Linked DNA regions of Homo sapiens: regions 2 and 3 are each linked to region 1. Evidence: promoter capture Hi-C in 16 types of primary human blood cells and fetal thymus (Javierre and others, 2016). All regions are on one chromosome and are shown on one strand. Each heading gives the region's core, a stretch centred on a gene start or on the middle of the fragment in contact. The rest is flanking DNA. Distances are from core to core; before and after follow the strand shown. Region 1 holds the start of ZFAT (zinc finger and AT-hook domain containing). Region 2 has its middle 340 kb from the start of LINC03024. Region 3 has its middle 360 kb from the start of LINC03024.

What was found. Contacts are between HindIII fragments. The CHiCAGO score rates a contact against its expected background, and 5 or more counts as called.
Region 2: a contact is called between a fragment that was not itself captured here and the fragment with the promoter of ZFAT in region 1, in 1 of 17 cell types (monocytes). The highest score is 6.8, in monocytes.
Region 3: a fragment that was not itself captured here is called in contact with the fragment with the promoter of ZFAT in region 1 in 3 of 17 cell types (M0 macrophages, naive CD4 T cells and non-activated CD4 T cells); the score reaches 7.8 in M0 macrophages.

Annotation. Positions count from the first base shown.
Region 1 is chr8:134,710,778-134,715,908 of GRCh38, forward strand. It overlaps ZFAT (zinc finger and AT-hook domain containing), which reads right to left and starts at 2,254. Exons shown (of 16, transcript NM_020863.4): 1 at 2,068-2,254. The coding sequence starts at 2,086. RefSeq lists an enhancer at 2,086-2,265. The HindIII fragment of the contact is 8,105 bases long and covers 1,537-5,131 here.
Region 2 is chr8:134,019,454-134,024,584 of GRCh38, forward strand. No RefSeq gene overlaps it. Among named protein-coding and RNA genes, the nearest start is that of LINC03024, 340 kb to the left of the region's middle. The HindIII fragment of the contact is 2,553 bases long and covers 1,537-4,089 here.
Region 3 is chr8:134,038,838-134,043,968 of GRCh38, forward strand. No RefSeq gene overlaps it. Among named protein-coding and RNA genes, the nearest start is that of LINC03024, 360 kb to the left of the region's middle. The HindIII fragment of the contact is 4,207 bases long and covers 565-4,771 here.

The sequences.
Region 1 (5,131 bases), core at 1,004-3,503:
AACCATCAGAAAGCAAAGGTGTCACTATCTCAGCCACACATATGGGCAATCTGTGGTTGTCTGGCATCGCCATCATTCCCGACTCTGAATTTCTATGCTACCAATAAGACAATCACTTTCTTACATTTATTTACACATAAGTCCTTACCAGTAAAAAATATGACACACCATTAATACAGTGAAAAACAAGGTGTTCAAGGTACCTAAGCGGCACAGCAGCATCACCAGAACACATGCATCAGCTGCTAAACAACAGAACAATAAACAACGGCTGGCTTTAAGTCTGCTGTTCAGCCTGCATTTCTTTCTGAGTGTTAACAGCATCGTCTTTACAGTTGTGCAACTGTTGTTTTGTTTTGTTTTTTGAGAAAAATAGAGATGGGGTTTCACTACACTGCCCAGGCTGGTCTTGAACTCCTGGACTCAAGGGACCCTCCCGCCTCAGACTCCCAGAGTGCTGGGATTACAGGCGTGAGCTACTGCGCCCGGCTATGGAACTGCATTTCTGCTGAGAACCTTCACGAGGTCAGATAGAAAATTTTCCACTGTGGCCTCATGTCAGTGCTCAAAGTTTCAGACTTTGGAGCATTTCCGATTTCGGATTTTTGGATTAGGGATGCTCAACCTGTATTTGGAGAGCAAGTCTCTCCGGTGCTCATTTTAGGCTAACCTAAGACAGCACACCTGAATCAGCTGGGCACCACAGCTAATCAGCGCACCTGTGGTCACAGCTACTTGGCAGGCTGAGGCGGGAGGTTTACCTGAGGGCGGGAGGCAGAGGTTGCAGTGACCCGAGATTGCACCATTGCACCCCGGCCTGAGTGATAGTGCGGGACTCTGTCCCAAAAAATTAAAAAAATTAAATTAAAAAAAAGCACGCCTGATATAGTTCGGGTCTCCTGACCCAATATTCGGCTCTGGGCCCACTCTGTCACTCCAGGACACATTCTCCCACATCTAGCACCGCAGCAGGTGGAGGCAGGACTACGACTGGGACTGCTCTTTACCCCTGCCTGGCGTGCAGAGGGGATCCTTGCAAAGCTGTTATTTGAACTAAAGTCAGGAAAGGTGTCCCTGGGGGTTAGAGGTAGGACACGCTACTTCCTTCAGCATGGGGACACACACTACAGATGTTTCAGTAGATGAACTGGTAGGCTCGGAAGATAAAGCTGGTGAGAGGCAGCTGTGCGGGGCATCTCCAAAAGGTCACTTGGACTCCAGCAAAAAAAGCCAGACTGATGGGCAGGCGTGATCAGTTAGCGCGTTCGTTCTTTCATTCACTAAGTATATAGTGAACACTTACATGAGCCAAGCCCTATTCTAAGAAGATGGAGGTACAAGTCAGGCGAGCACGCAGGAGTTTGGATTTTAGCCCAAGTTGGAGGAAGTTAATTTTTAAAGCCCCAGCTCTGTCGTTTTTAAACTGTGTAAAGTTGACCTCTCTGAACTTCTGTTCCTCATAATAAATGACCTACAAATTAGAGTTCTCAAGAGAGCTGAGCAGCAAAACGTGTTAAGTCAGTGCCCAAATGTGGAAGCTTGTGGTAATTACAGGTGAAGGACCCCAAGCTCAAGGTTAAATGACTTGCACCGGGTGTCAAGTGGAAGATCTGTCACTCTATTAGGTCCAGCCGGCGGCCGGGAAGCCTGCAGGAGGTACTCATTTCGCCAAGGAGGAATCCGAGGCCAGGCAAGAAGGAAGCCCCGCCAAGGTCCAGTCAAAGAGCTGGCATCGCCGGGATTCGAACCTCGCGCCCACTGCGTTCCGTCGCTGGCCCGCGCCCCAACGCCACCCATTGCCGTGGAAACGGCCGGGCGCATGCTCTCCCACTCGCTCCCGCCTTGCTTTTTTTTTTTTTTTGCGGCGGGATACCCCAGCGACTGAACGTGAGCCGCAGAACGCAACTACGTTCGCTCTCCTCCCCAGACCCGGATCCCTCCGCGGCCGGCGGCCGGCGGCCGGCGGCCGGCGCACTGCTTCCCGACTCGACGCTCGAAACGGCTTTCCGCGCGCCGCGCCGCGCCCCACCCCCACCCCGTCTCACCCCAACCCCCAGCCCGGCTCACCTGCCGCCCGCGTCTCCATGGCAACGCCCCACCGCGGAGGAAAAAAAAGCCTCGGGCTCTTCCGGGCCCCCTCCCGTGCCGACCGAGGGGGCGGGGCGCCCTGCTGACGCTTCGCTTTTTATTTTTATTTTTTTAAGAAAAGAGCCGGCGAGGTTATGGCGAATCTGCGGCATCCAACATGGCGGATGGAGTCTTCGCCCTCCTCCCCACGGGGCGCAGACGCCTGCGTAGCGGACGTCCGCTTCGGGTGACCCTCCCCCGGCGCCGAGCGCGGCCCGGCAGGGCCGAGCTAACGCGCATGCTCGCAGTCGGAGGCCGTGCTTTTTATCCCACTTCACGGATTCCGCTGCGCCGCGTTTTGAGCCACGCCCAGGGAGGGGCCCTCGGGAGGTCCGGAGCGCGGATCTCGGGGTCAGGAGTCTGGCGGTTGTGCCAGGCCTCTGCTAGCGCGACCCTAGACCCGCGGCATGTGGGGCCGCCGAGCTGGGCGTGCAAGGAGAGTTCTGGGTGCGCTTCGTGTCCCAGCTCTACCTCTCACTACCTAACTTGGGGCAGCGAATTAACTTTTCTTGCTCTCAGTTTACTGATGTGTCCATCGGGGTGCTCCCAACCTGCATCCCGCTCAAAGCTGCGGCGTTTCCCGAAGCGTGGGGTGCTTTCCTTTGGGCCACCCGGCTGGGTTTTAGGGGCTACAGAGCACTGAGCGGCCTACGATCACACGTGACAAGGCGACTTCCTCCTCTCTCGTCTCTTTTTGTCCCACAACAAGTCTGCACTGGATGTGCGCGCCTCCAACACCCGCTCATTCATTTCTCTGCTTGTGGCACAGCCTTCGGCAGGCAGCTGAGTCTGGTGGAAATTTAATGACTTTGTTTTTGGTTTTGATGTTAAGGTGTTTAGCTCCAACACTGTAGTCCTCGGCTCAAATGATATCTTCCAGCCCCTAACCCTCACCCCCCGAAACCCATCTAAAGTAACCCTCCAAGACACTTCATATTTTCTACGTAGCATCCATTCCTATCTGTCATTATCTCCCTCCCTTACCTCTGTCAATGGTCACCCCGTTAGCCTCAGAAACAAACTGAGCCTGACAGTTATTTATTTCATGAGTAATGAGTTGATGTGGTCCATGTTCTAAGGTCATTTTCTGTTCATGACAAATAACGTTTTTCACTTACAGTAGTCATATAAAGTTTTTAAATTGTTCGTTTACATTTTCAAAAATCAGTCAACTTAAAATGGTGTACATGCTGCAAAGACATGCCCCCCCCCCCCCAAAAAAAAAAAGTGTAAAAGCAGACTTCAGGAGACTGAAGTTTGGGAAACTGATTTGTGTTCATGGTTCCCCTGAAATGCTAGTCTTTGCCTGTTCTTCTTTTCCTGGAATAACCCTCTTTGGTTGCTGCTCAACATGAAATTCTCGGACAGCCCTGAAGTTCACACTTCATGTTCCCACAGCTCTGGTCTCACTGGCCTAGCTCCATCCCCCACTTCTCTGTTTGCACAGCGTTCATCCTCACTAGACTGAGCTTCCTGAGCAGCCCTTATAGGTCCTTTTCATCTTGTTTTCTCAGCGCCTGTTGCATAGTCATATTACTGAATGAACACTTCGTTCTGGGGTCACTTATTTTTTAGGAGGAAAACTCCCTTGGGCATTGAGCTTCAGGATGACTCATCTGATTTCTCAGGAGACTGCCCGCCTGCTCCTTAACCCTGTTCTTGGGAAATACGGAACCATGAAAAGACCCTAAAGTTGTCCAGTCTGTTAAATATATGCTCACAGATATAGCCTCCCCCTTCTTCATTTCATCCTCGCAATCTGGAAGGTTAAGTTGGGCAATATGATTATTGTCCTTTTCCAGATGAGAAAATGGAATGTTCAGAGTGGTCAAATGGCTTTCTGAGATTACACAGCAAAATAGTGAAGAGCCAGGTGTGGATCTCGCCTCTCCATGCCCAGTGTTCCTCTCCCCACCACATCTAAAATGTACCCAAACTGCCCCCCAGGCCTCCAGGAGAGCCTCCAAGAGAGCCAGTTCCAAGACAGCCACAGAGTCGCTTCACAGCCACCACGTCCTCCACCACAAGATACATGGCTAGGTGGGGCCCATCAGAATCTTTATTTGGAAATGAACTGCTCAAAAAGCTGCATTGATGAGCGTTTCCTTTTAGAACTATAAATATTTACAATAATCATTATTTTGCTGTGAATCGATTTCTGTCAGGAAATTAGAGTTGTTCTGGGTTGCTGACAGTATTGGTTTTGTGCCGGTTTGCCTTTCTCACAGCAGCGTTTAAATGTTGTTTATTGATTAGCAGATGGATTGCTCCTAGATGTTGTGACCAAACGAATTTTGGAAATGAAACAATTTAAAATTTGTCTCAAAACCCAATTACCTCAGACTGCTGAAGACAAATTAAAAGAAGAAATTGTGGACTGTGGATGATGGTTCTGGGTTAATTATTTGGAAAGCTATGATTTTCTCCACTATTCCCATGGCATTTTCTTCCTCCTACCCATTCATCATTCAGAGAAGAGTTACTGAGCACCTATTATTACTGGAAACTGTCCTGGCCATAGGCAGATGGAAATGACTAAGAGATGGCCCCTTTCTGTGGGGGAATCCAGGTTCGTAAATGGAGAGATGAGTCCACAGCTGGCTCTTCCACGGCCTTACTATGTGATTTGCACATTTTCAATCAGCAAACATCTCTATTCTTTCTATTTGCCAGTAATATTTCAGAATGCCTTCAATTAATGAAGACACATTTGTGGAATTGGATGTAAATCACTCGAAAGTATATAATTAATGGCAAGCTGCCTCGGTGATGGTTCCTAGAAGAGAGCGGCTTCCCAGCTGACCACTGGTGGCAGTTGGCCTCTTGAAGCTAGTATGTGAATTAATTTGTGTCAATAAATTTATCGACATGAAATGGTATTTAGTTATATAAGAAATATAATTTGCACAACTGAATATATTCGTGTCAATAATTTTATCATTATATCCAATATCTTTATGAGAAATAGACATTTACATGAAAACAATAATTTAGGAACATAATT
Region 2 (5,131 bases), core at 1,563-4,062, 690 kb before region 1:
ATATGGTTTGGCTCTGTGTCCCCACTCAAATCTCATCTCGTACTCTAATCCCCATGTGTCAAGGGAAAGAGTTGGTGGGAGGTGATCATGGGGATCATGGAAGCGGTTTTCCCCATGCTGTTCTGGTGATAATGAGGGGGTTCTCACAAGATCTGAGTGTCCCCTATGGCATCTGTCTCTCCTGCCACCATATAGGATATACCTTGCTTCCCCTTAGCCTTCTACCATGATTGTAAGATTCCTGAGGCCTCTCCAGCCATGCAAAATTGTGAGTCAATTAAACCTCTTTCCTTCATAAATAACCCACCTGAGGTAGTATCTTCATAGCAGTGTGAAAACAGACTAATACAATGGAGATACTGTGACTCTGCTGAGGTGGCTGTAGACTAAGGAAGACTTTCCTTCAGTCATTTTCTTATGTGAAACATTGGCATGAGCTCTGGAAAGGAAAGGCAAGACACACATTGACCACATATCATACACTAGACACTGGATGGTGCCTCATGCTATTTAATCCTTCCCTGTAGCTATCCTGCAAGATGGGCGATATGACCCTGCTTTACAGATGTGGAAGCTGAGGCTTAGGGAAGGCCAGCTAGATGACTCCCAATCCTGTACATGCCACCTGGGCTCCAGAAGAGCAGCTAGAGGGCCTCCCCTCTGTGCTCAAGCCTAGAGAGGTAATGCGACGCAACCCAGGTGGACCTTCAGGCCCCAAGTTTGTGGAAGAACTGATGCAAATGGAGAAACAGGAAGATTCCACTGCTAAACCAAAGTCCCTCCTCTGCACACTGGTCACCTGGAGCAGTCTCTTTTCCCTACACTGTACCATCATTAAGCTCATTCAAACACCATCTCTGTGTAGCTGCTTCACGGGGTGCCTTAGACCTAAGCACATGTATTTTTTTTATTTATCAACATGAGATCATGTCTCCTCATCTCTAAACTGAAGGCAAAGATCCTGCTGTGTGTTGGCCCCATCCAGGGGCCCTGAGAATCCAATGTAACCACAGTAATCCTGACAGCTATCACTCAGATACCTCTCATTAGGTGCCAGGCATGATTATGAGCACATAGGATAACTCATAATTCACAAAATCTTCATATCAGCAATGTGATACCCTGTTATTAGCACATTCATTTTGCAGATGAGGAAAACCAGGTACAGAGAGATTAAGTAACTTGCTCAAGGTCACACGGTTGCTAAGGGGAGGAGTCAGTATTTGAACTCAGGGAGTCTCTGATCATAGGCTTTGTGCTCTGGAGGGGATGGGAGGGCTCCCTGGAAGCTTACGGGGTTATGGGCATTCTAGAGTCAGATCTGACCTCACTCAGCCTGACTCCTTCCCCATGAAGAAGTCTGACCGACAGAGTTTTATCTCATCATTACCAGTGCAGTCTTGCTGGCTCAGGTCCTTGGAAATATTGCTATTCTATGCTATATCCTAACATTAATACTCAGTTAATGCTCTACTATTGAAAATCATGCTCAATTACTTTTAGCATAAAATTTCAGCTGCTTCCCACTGCATTGGAAGCTTTGAAATAGGCAATTGTCTCTTACCTCCTCTTTCACTTCTGCCCATTCTCCCTTTAGCAAGCTCATGTGCTGGGAAGTCACCTTTGTTCTATGATTGCAGCTTTTCCCCTGTGTGGAAGAGACTGTACTCACTGTACTGTCTCCTTGAAATGCTCTTCGCTGGCTATTCAGAGGGCAGACTCCATCTCAACCTCTGGGTCTGGAAACTTCCCTTCCACCTCCCCAATACCTGAAGTTCTCTGCTCCCTGCCCTCTCTTTCCCTCTATCTCATCAACCCACTTATTGTCTGGACCTTAACTAGAGTTGCTACCCCAATTCACAAATTATATCCTCAGGGTTTGTAGAAACCCATCTGGATAAAACTTGTATTTTTTTTTAAATTGTGGAAAAATACATACAACATAAAAACATAAAATTTACCATCTTATTTTTAAGTGCCCAGGTCAGTAGCATTACGAACATTTACATTATTGTGCAACCAATCTCTAGAATGTTTTCCTCTTGCAACACTGAAATTCCATGCACATTAAACAACTTCCCCTTTCCCCTCCCTCCAGCCCCTGGCAGCCACTCTTCTACTTTTTCTTTCTATAATTTTGACTACTCTAGGTACCTCATATAAGTGGGGTCATAGAGCATTTGTCCTTTTATGTCCGGCTTATTTCACTTAGCATAATGTCCTCGTGGTTCATCCATGTCATAGCATGTGCCAGAATTTCCTTTCTTTTTAAGGCTGAGTAATACCCCATTGTGCATATACACCACATTTTCTTTCTCCATTCATTCCATCAATGGACACTTGGGATGCTTCTACTTTTTGGTGACTGTGAATAATGCTGCTAAGAGCATAGCTGTACACAAACCCCTGCATTTTAAACTCCTGTATTTACTGTTTGGGCTGTAGACTTCCAGGGCTGAGCTCCACACACTGGACTGTTTCTAGCTCCCTGACATTATCAGGCTCCTCCTCTTCCCCTTACCGCCATAATCCACAGCTGTGCCTTCTCCATGCCTCTGGGAGCTATTAATTAGGACAATTTTCTCTTCTTAGTTTTTAGGATATTCATTTTGACTCAACTCATCACGTATATAAGTAGGGTGGATGACTGAGTCTACAGTGTGGTTTCTGATAACTTGGTGGGGACATTATTATAAACCCCATACAATCTCTTTAAAATGTCCTCTTCCCCTGCTAGATGGTACTTTAAATACTCATTGCAATGAACAGACTTCCTTACCACAAGGGGCACTTAGTGGGGAACTGAGACCTGTTAACCGAGGGGACATTATGACCTAATGATACCAAGGAGTCAGTGATGCTCAGTGAACGAGTGCTCAAAAAAGGTTCTCGAAGACAGTAAACAGGAGCGGAAGAGGAACAGGAGGCAGCAGAAGAAAGGCCTCAAGAGAAATGTAGGAGACTGCAGACACTAGATCTGGACATTGTTGGAGCTGGGACTACATCTCCAGGAGGAGAAGCATGGACCCATCTAACTGACCTTATGAGAGGTGGGATCCTAGGAGCCAGCTCTAGGGATGGGGGCTGTGTAGGAAGCAGATGCTAGATCCAGGTCAAGAGATTCCTCCCTTGACTGCTTAGCTGCTTATGGTTTTATGAACGTGGACAAGTTAATATTCCTACACGGCTACTTTCTCTTGAGGAGAACAAACCAGAATAATAATATGTATCTTACAGTGTTTTGTTGATTAAAAACGAATTCACATGAGTGGGCTGAGGAGCATGGCTGTGTCTCTGCAGATGTTCCATAAAAATTGTTCATCCTGGTTGGGTGCGGTGACTCATGCCTGTAATCTCAGCACTTTGGGAGGCCGAAGTGGGCGGATCATGAGGTCAGGAGATCGAGACCACCCTAGCCAACATGGTGAAACCCCATCCCTACTAAAAATACAAAAATTAGCTAGGCATGGTGGTGCGCACCTGTAGTCCTTGCTACTTGGAAGGCTGAGGCAGGAGAATCGCTTGAACCCAGGAGGTGGAGGTTGCAGTGAGCCAAGGTCGTGCCATTGCACTCCAGCCTGGTGACAGAGTGACACTCTGTCTCAAAAACAAAAATTGTTCATCCTCTCTTGTTCTTGCAAACCTCACATCAGGCATAGTTCTATGCCCAGAATTATGCCTTGATAAATATTTGGGTGGAAGAAAGGAAAGATAGATGATGTTTTCTCCCCATCAGCTGCCTTCTCAGGGAATTTGGATCTCCAATTTGGGAGATTTACAGAACACTTCATGAGGACTGGAGATGCCCAGAATGAGCCTGCACTCCCCAGTTGAGTGTTTCCAGAATAAATGGAAGATGAGTGGTGTTGTACATGGGTGAGGCAATGTCTATCATTTGAACTAAAAAGGACAAGTAAACACATAGTTCACAGTATAAATAAAACCAGAGACATTCCCTCATCAGCAACCTTCATATTCTGAAAGAAAGCCCACAAAGCACCTGAAAGACATTCATAGACCAGCTGCCATGAGACCTCTCTGCACCAAGAACCTTTCTTTCCTTACTCTCTTGTTACTAGCTTGAAATCAAGCTTCATGCTTGAAACTCAGCTAGTAGCACCCCCACCAGGACACACAGTGGTCTGGAGTTAGATTGTAAACACTGGGCCCCTTATGCTGGCTGGGATTTTCCCGGGCACATTGGTGGAGCTTTCTTCTGAAATGTCACACAACGCAGCTGTGTACCCTGAAAGAGGTTTTGGAATGACAGTCTGGAGAATGGGTGGAGTCTGCCCATGAGGAGGGTCAGAAATCCCTAAACTCCTAAGGAGTCAACTACTTAAAGGAACCCAACAGTTCTACAAAACCACAGAGAAATGTCAACATCACTGGACCAGATCTACTTCCCCTAAAAAACATAAGGCTTGGCTTGACAATACTGAAGAAATCAAATAGGAAATGCTTATTTTCTGCTCATGTCTACCATGTCCTTATTTGCCTTTAAAAGAAAAATAAAAGATAATTTGGTCTAGATAATTATTATTATCATCCTTATTGTCAACATTGTCATCTTCATCCTTACAAGGAATTAAAATACCATAGTGATATATCTAGGCTGAATCTTAATAACTGAGGAAGAAGCAACTAGATGGAGAAGGCAGACAAGGACTGAGGGGGTGTGGGAGCTGAAAATGTCCCAGGCAGAGAGTGCAGAGTGAGCTAAGACATGCTGTTCCACCCTAATCTCTTTTTGGTTACTTAATTTTACCCCCTCTTCATCTGTTATTTTGTGTTTGTCCATGTCTTTCAACCTGTTCAATCCACTTTCTTTAATCTGTTTCTGTGTTGACACTGAACTCTGGACTCCAACCTATTTCTGGTTAGCAATTGCTATCCTTGCAATATGTCACAAATTCATTCTTTCATTCAATCATTCATTCAATAAGACCATATGATATGGTTTGGCTCTGTGTCCCCACCCAAATCTCATCTCGAATTTTGATCCCCACATGTAGAGAGAGGGATCTGCAATCCCCACGTGTCAAGGGAGGGACCTGTAATCCCCACGTGTCAAGGCAGGGAGGTTATTGGATCATGGTGGGGGTTTCTCCCAAGCTGTTCTCATGATAGT
Region 3 (5,131 bases), core at 1,418-3,917, 670 kb before region 1:
TGAGGAATCACCACACTGCTTTACACAATGGTTGAACTAATTTACACTCCCACCAATAGTGTATAAGCATTTCCTTTCCTCCACAATCTTCCCAGCATCTGTTATTTTTGACTTTTTAATAGTAGCTATTCTGAGTGGTGTGAGATGGTATCTCATTGTGGTTTTGATTTGCATTTCTCTAATAATCAGTGATATTGAGCTTGTTTCATACGCTTGTTGGTTGCATGTATGTTTTCTTTTGAGAAGTGTCTGTTCATGTCCTTTGCCCACTTCTTAATGGTTTTTTTTTATTGTAAATTTGTTTAAGTTCCTTATAGATGCTGGGTATTAGACCTTTGTCTGATGCATAGTTTGCAAATATTTTCTCTCATTCTGTAGGTTGTCTGTTTATTCTGTTGATAGTTTTCCTTTGTAGAAGCTATTAAGTTTAATTAGATCCCATTTGTCAATCTTTACTTTTGTTGCAATTGCTTTTGGTGTGTTTGTGCAGGGTCTTTATTTGTAGCTGACTTCTTATATTTGGCTTCACAGAGAGGTATGTTAGCAAAATATTTTTCGTGTTGAAGCTTTGTGGTGTGATCCAGTAGGTGGCACTCAGGCATAGTGGTCAGTTGGTAGGCTCTTGCTCAGTTGTGTGTCTCCCTTGTATTTCCTCATAGTTGCAGCCATGTTTCCTCTCAATGCTCTGCAAGTGAGGGTTCCTCTTCCACTTAAGTCGTGGCTATAGACTACAAATTGGCACCCCCAGGCCGCCCACCACAGTTTTGGTATGTTCTCAGGGTTTATGTTTCCTCTCCAATTTGGAGGCAGCAGAGTAAGAGACCTTAGTAGTGGTTGTGGCTGAGGGTCTTCTGCTTGTCTGAAGGAGTTCATAAATAGGATATAAAAGTTATTAGTTTTGTAAGAGAAGACTAAAAATTTAGATTTCATTAAAATTAAGAACATTGGTTCACATCAATAAACATTGTTAAGAGAACAAAAAGGAAAGCCACTGGGAGAGACAAGATATTTATAAGACATATATTTGACAAAAATCTAATCTAGAATATATAAATAGGGCCTATGAATTGATAAGCAAACTATAAACAATCCAATAGGAAAGTTGATTTAAAAATTTGAAGGTACTTCAAGAAAGAAAAGGCAGTAAAGATTAAAAAGGTGCTCAATAAAGGATCCATCAGAGGCATGCAAATTCAAACGAAATAAAATATCACTACCCACCACAGGAATGGGCAACATTTTAAAAAAGTCGAACCAAATCAAGGATTATTGAATATGTGAAACAATTGTAACCTTCATTTCATTCTGGAAAACTGTTTAGCAGTATCTATATAGACCTTAATTATGACCCAACATTTCTACTTCTAGATATATATCCAACAGAAATTCATACCAATGAGCAACAAAAAGTCAAGTGCAGGAATATTTATAGCAACATTTGATTTATAATGAGAAATGGAAATTTCTATTAAAAATAAAATAGAAAAAGAAGTCACAATATATTATTCATCAAAAGGTATATTATATAACAATGAAAATAAATTTTATATATATATATATATATATCTCCAACAACATGGGTTTAAATCTCAATATAATATTGAATTTTAAAAGCCAGATACAGGACAGTAAGTATTCTATGATTCCATCAAAATATCTTGCAAAAATAGACAAATCTAACTTGTTCTGCTAGAAGTCAGAGTGGTGGTTACCTTTATAAAGGAGGCAAAAGAAGGATTAAGAAGAGGTGCAAGCAGGATTTCTAGAGCTGGTGATGGTATCATTCTATTTCCCAATCTGTGTTGTGGTTACATGTATGTCTTCATTTTTTAAAAGTGCATCAAACTTACACTTATAAATTATGCACTTTTCTGGATATATAGTTCAGTAAAAAAAATTACAAATGCTAGAAAAAAAGATAAAACCTAAAGAATATAGAGTCAGAAAATAATAAAGATATGAGTAAAAATTCATGTTAGAAAAAACAAAAGGATAAAAAACTCAATAAACCAAAAGCCATTTTTTTTGGAAAAAATAAGAAGACAAAAATAGAGCAATAAAATGGCAATTCTATAGCAAATCTACTCAAGAAATAAAGGGAAATAATTTACACTACTGTTTTAATCATAATTATATATTTATATTTATGTAATAAATAATGTAAATAAATATTTTTTACATTATTGACATCAGGCAGTGGGTTAGAGCCAGATGGTTTCAATTTCAATCAATTGGTAATGGGGAACACCTGAATGTTTTTGAGCAAGGAAATGATATGATCTGATTGTCTTCTGGAAAGATCTCTCTGGGACTAGTATGTAGAATGATTGAATGACCAGTATGTAGAATGGTTCTACTAATATGTACAATGATTGAAGAATAACTATTTTTTAAAAGAAATAAATTTTGCTCCAGAAATAAAGGGAAATTTTAAAAAGAATACTTTTCTTGGTCCTTCTCAGTTTATGCTATAGTTGTATTTGTTTGAGGCATTACTTTTCAAGTGCTTTTAAACCAGAGCTGAGGTTTATTTTCATCATTCTTTTCATTAATCTGAGGGGCAATGATCCATTGTTTGTGACTCAACATTCTGGATTTGCATAATAGAAGACAGGCAATTTGTTTCAAACTCACAGAAAAATATTTCAACACATTTGTCTTTTTCAGCATCCTTACCAGTTATGACATTGACATCATGAAAAAATACTAATTCTAAAATAGTCACAGATATTTAATTTAACTTGCAATGCATTTGCTTCTACTCAACAATAACTATGTGTCTAGCACCTGGTTTTTATTTAAATTTTATTAATTCCATAAGCAAATACTGAGCTTCCAGTTTGTGCTGGCCACAGAGCTTGATCCTACCATGCAACAGTGTGTAAAACAACTACCTCCCTGAAGGAACTCTAACCCTGTGGGGCCAAGAAATAGACATACATAAACAATTACATTACAGGGCTAGGCATGGTGGCTCATGCCTTTAATCCTAGTACTTTGGGAGGCCAAGATGGGAGGATCACTTGAGCCTAAGAGTTTGAGATCAGCCTGGGAATCATGGCAAGACCCTGTCTCCACGAAAATAAAAGTTAAGAAAAAAAATTAGTTGGGTGTGGTGGGATATGCCTTCAGCCCCAGCTACTCAGGAGGCTGAGGTAGGAAGATAGCTTGAGCCTGGGAGGTTGAGGCTGCAGTTAGCTGTGATCATGTCACTGTACTATAGGCTGGGTGACAGAGAAGACTCTGTCTCAAAAAAAAACCTTACATTATAGAGTATTATATGCTGCAATAGAAATATGTCTGGAGTCATATGGTAGATCAGAGGAGAAAACAATTAAGTTTGTTGAGAAGATAGAAAAGGGTTGAAGGAAGATTTCACACAATCTGAGCATTGAAGTACATGTGGGTTTTGTCTGATGAGAAACAGGGATGAGCTGAAAGCACTATAGGAAGAATCATTAGCATGCAGTCCTGGACAGGCATATTGTGTGCAGAAAGGCCCAGAGATAATTATGGGAACATTCAAAGGACCCCATTTGTGAAGCAACTTCAGGCCCTGCTACGATGCTCAATTTCAGCACAAAGAGGCAAGCCCAGCAGACTCCTAGAGAGATGGATGAGAAGGTCCAGTGTGATTTTGAAAGATAACATTCCGTTCACTCTGCTCTGAAGGCCCTGTGAGTGTCTTGCCATCACTTGACTATACTATGAATGTTCTTTCAGATCTTCCTGCTTTGTGCGGTGCAAAGTGCTATACTTAGTCTGCTTTTAAAGCATTGCCTGCCAGCATAAAAGTCACATGTCCTTGGAACTATTTCTGAGCCTCCTGGCATAGTCAGTTTCTCCCTCCACAGTATTTGTGTGTTGCCTTGTACATATGCTATTACAAGATTCACCCCAATTAATGATAAATACGCTTCCAGTCCTTCACTGGATTTGGGGATATCTGATGACACTGGATGCTGCCTTTCTTATTTATAGCCTTAGTACCCTGAAGAGCTCTAAGTATGTAATGAATATTTAATCAATGTTTGTTAAACATAGCTCTCAATCATACAGTTAATTGTGTTTAAGAAAATGGCCTATCACATAACCGTAATGACCCAGAAGAATTTTTGTATTGTGAAATATCGCACCATTTTTGTTTGATAATTTTGAATTTTCAAAATTAGCATCTCCTATGATAAAAGAAACTAATAAATGCTTTGAAAAGAAAGTCAAGAAAAAGTCCTAACATTTACTTGACACTTACTAGAAGCTCATACTATGCTAAGAATATGTGTCATAGTTAATCATGTGTGTCAGCTTGGCTAGGCTCTTGTGTCCAGATGTTTGGTTAAACACCAGACTAGATGTTGCTTCTAAGTTATTTTTAGATGTAATTAACATTTAAATCAGTACATGAATAAAGTGGATTAACCCCCTGCTTTAATAATGTGGGTGGGCCTCACCCAATGAGTCGAAGGCCTTATGAGAAAAGACTGAGGTTCCTCCATGAGGAAGAAATTCTGCCTCCAGATTGCCTTGAAACTCAAGGCTGCAACATCAAAAATATCAACTCTTGTCAGAATTTCTAGGCTTTCAGCCTCTTCTGCAAATTTTCGACTTGCCAGCTTCCATAATCCTGTGAGCCAATTCTTTAGAATAAATCAATCCCCTCTCCTCATTAATCTTAGTTAGATAACACAACCTGACATCATTCACACATCACACACAGCTTTTGAGGCCAGTATTATTCTCATTTTTTGCACAAAGTTACTGAGGCTCTGAAAGCTTAAGTCTCTTGCATGGTGGATGTAGCAGGCAGTAATACTCTTCACCAATTATCCATTTCTCCTAGGGTGAGCAACTGTTCTGGCTTGCCTAAAACTGTGTTTAGAGGATGTGGTTAGAGAAGACAGCATGTAAGAATCATGAACTTAAACCAGGAAGTGAGAGCTGACTGCTCTTTCTCTAAGAGTTTCAGGGACAGTTGCGAGACAGAGACCCTCTTAGGATGGAAGAGAAATTTCCACAGATCCCATTGTACTCAGAAGAGCACTGGTCAAGGAATCTTTGGTTAAAACCTTGAATAACTGTTTTCTCTCAAAGCTCCAAGTCACCTATCTGTGAAGTAAAGGTGCATACCACA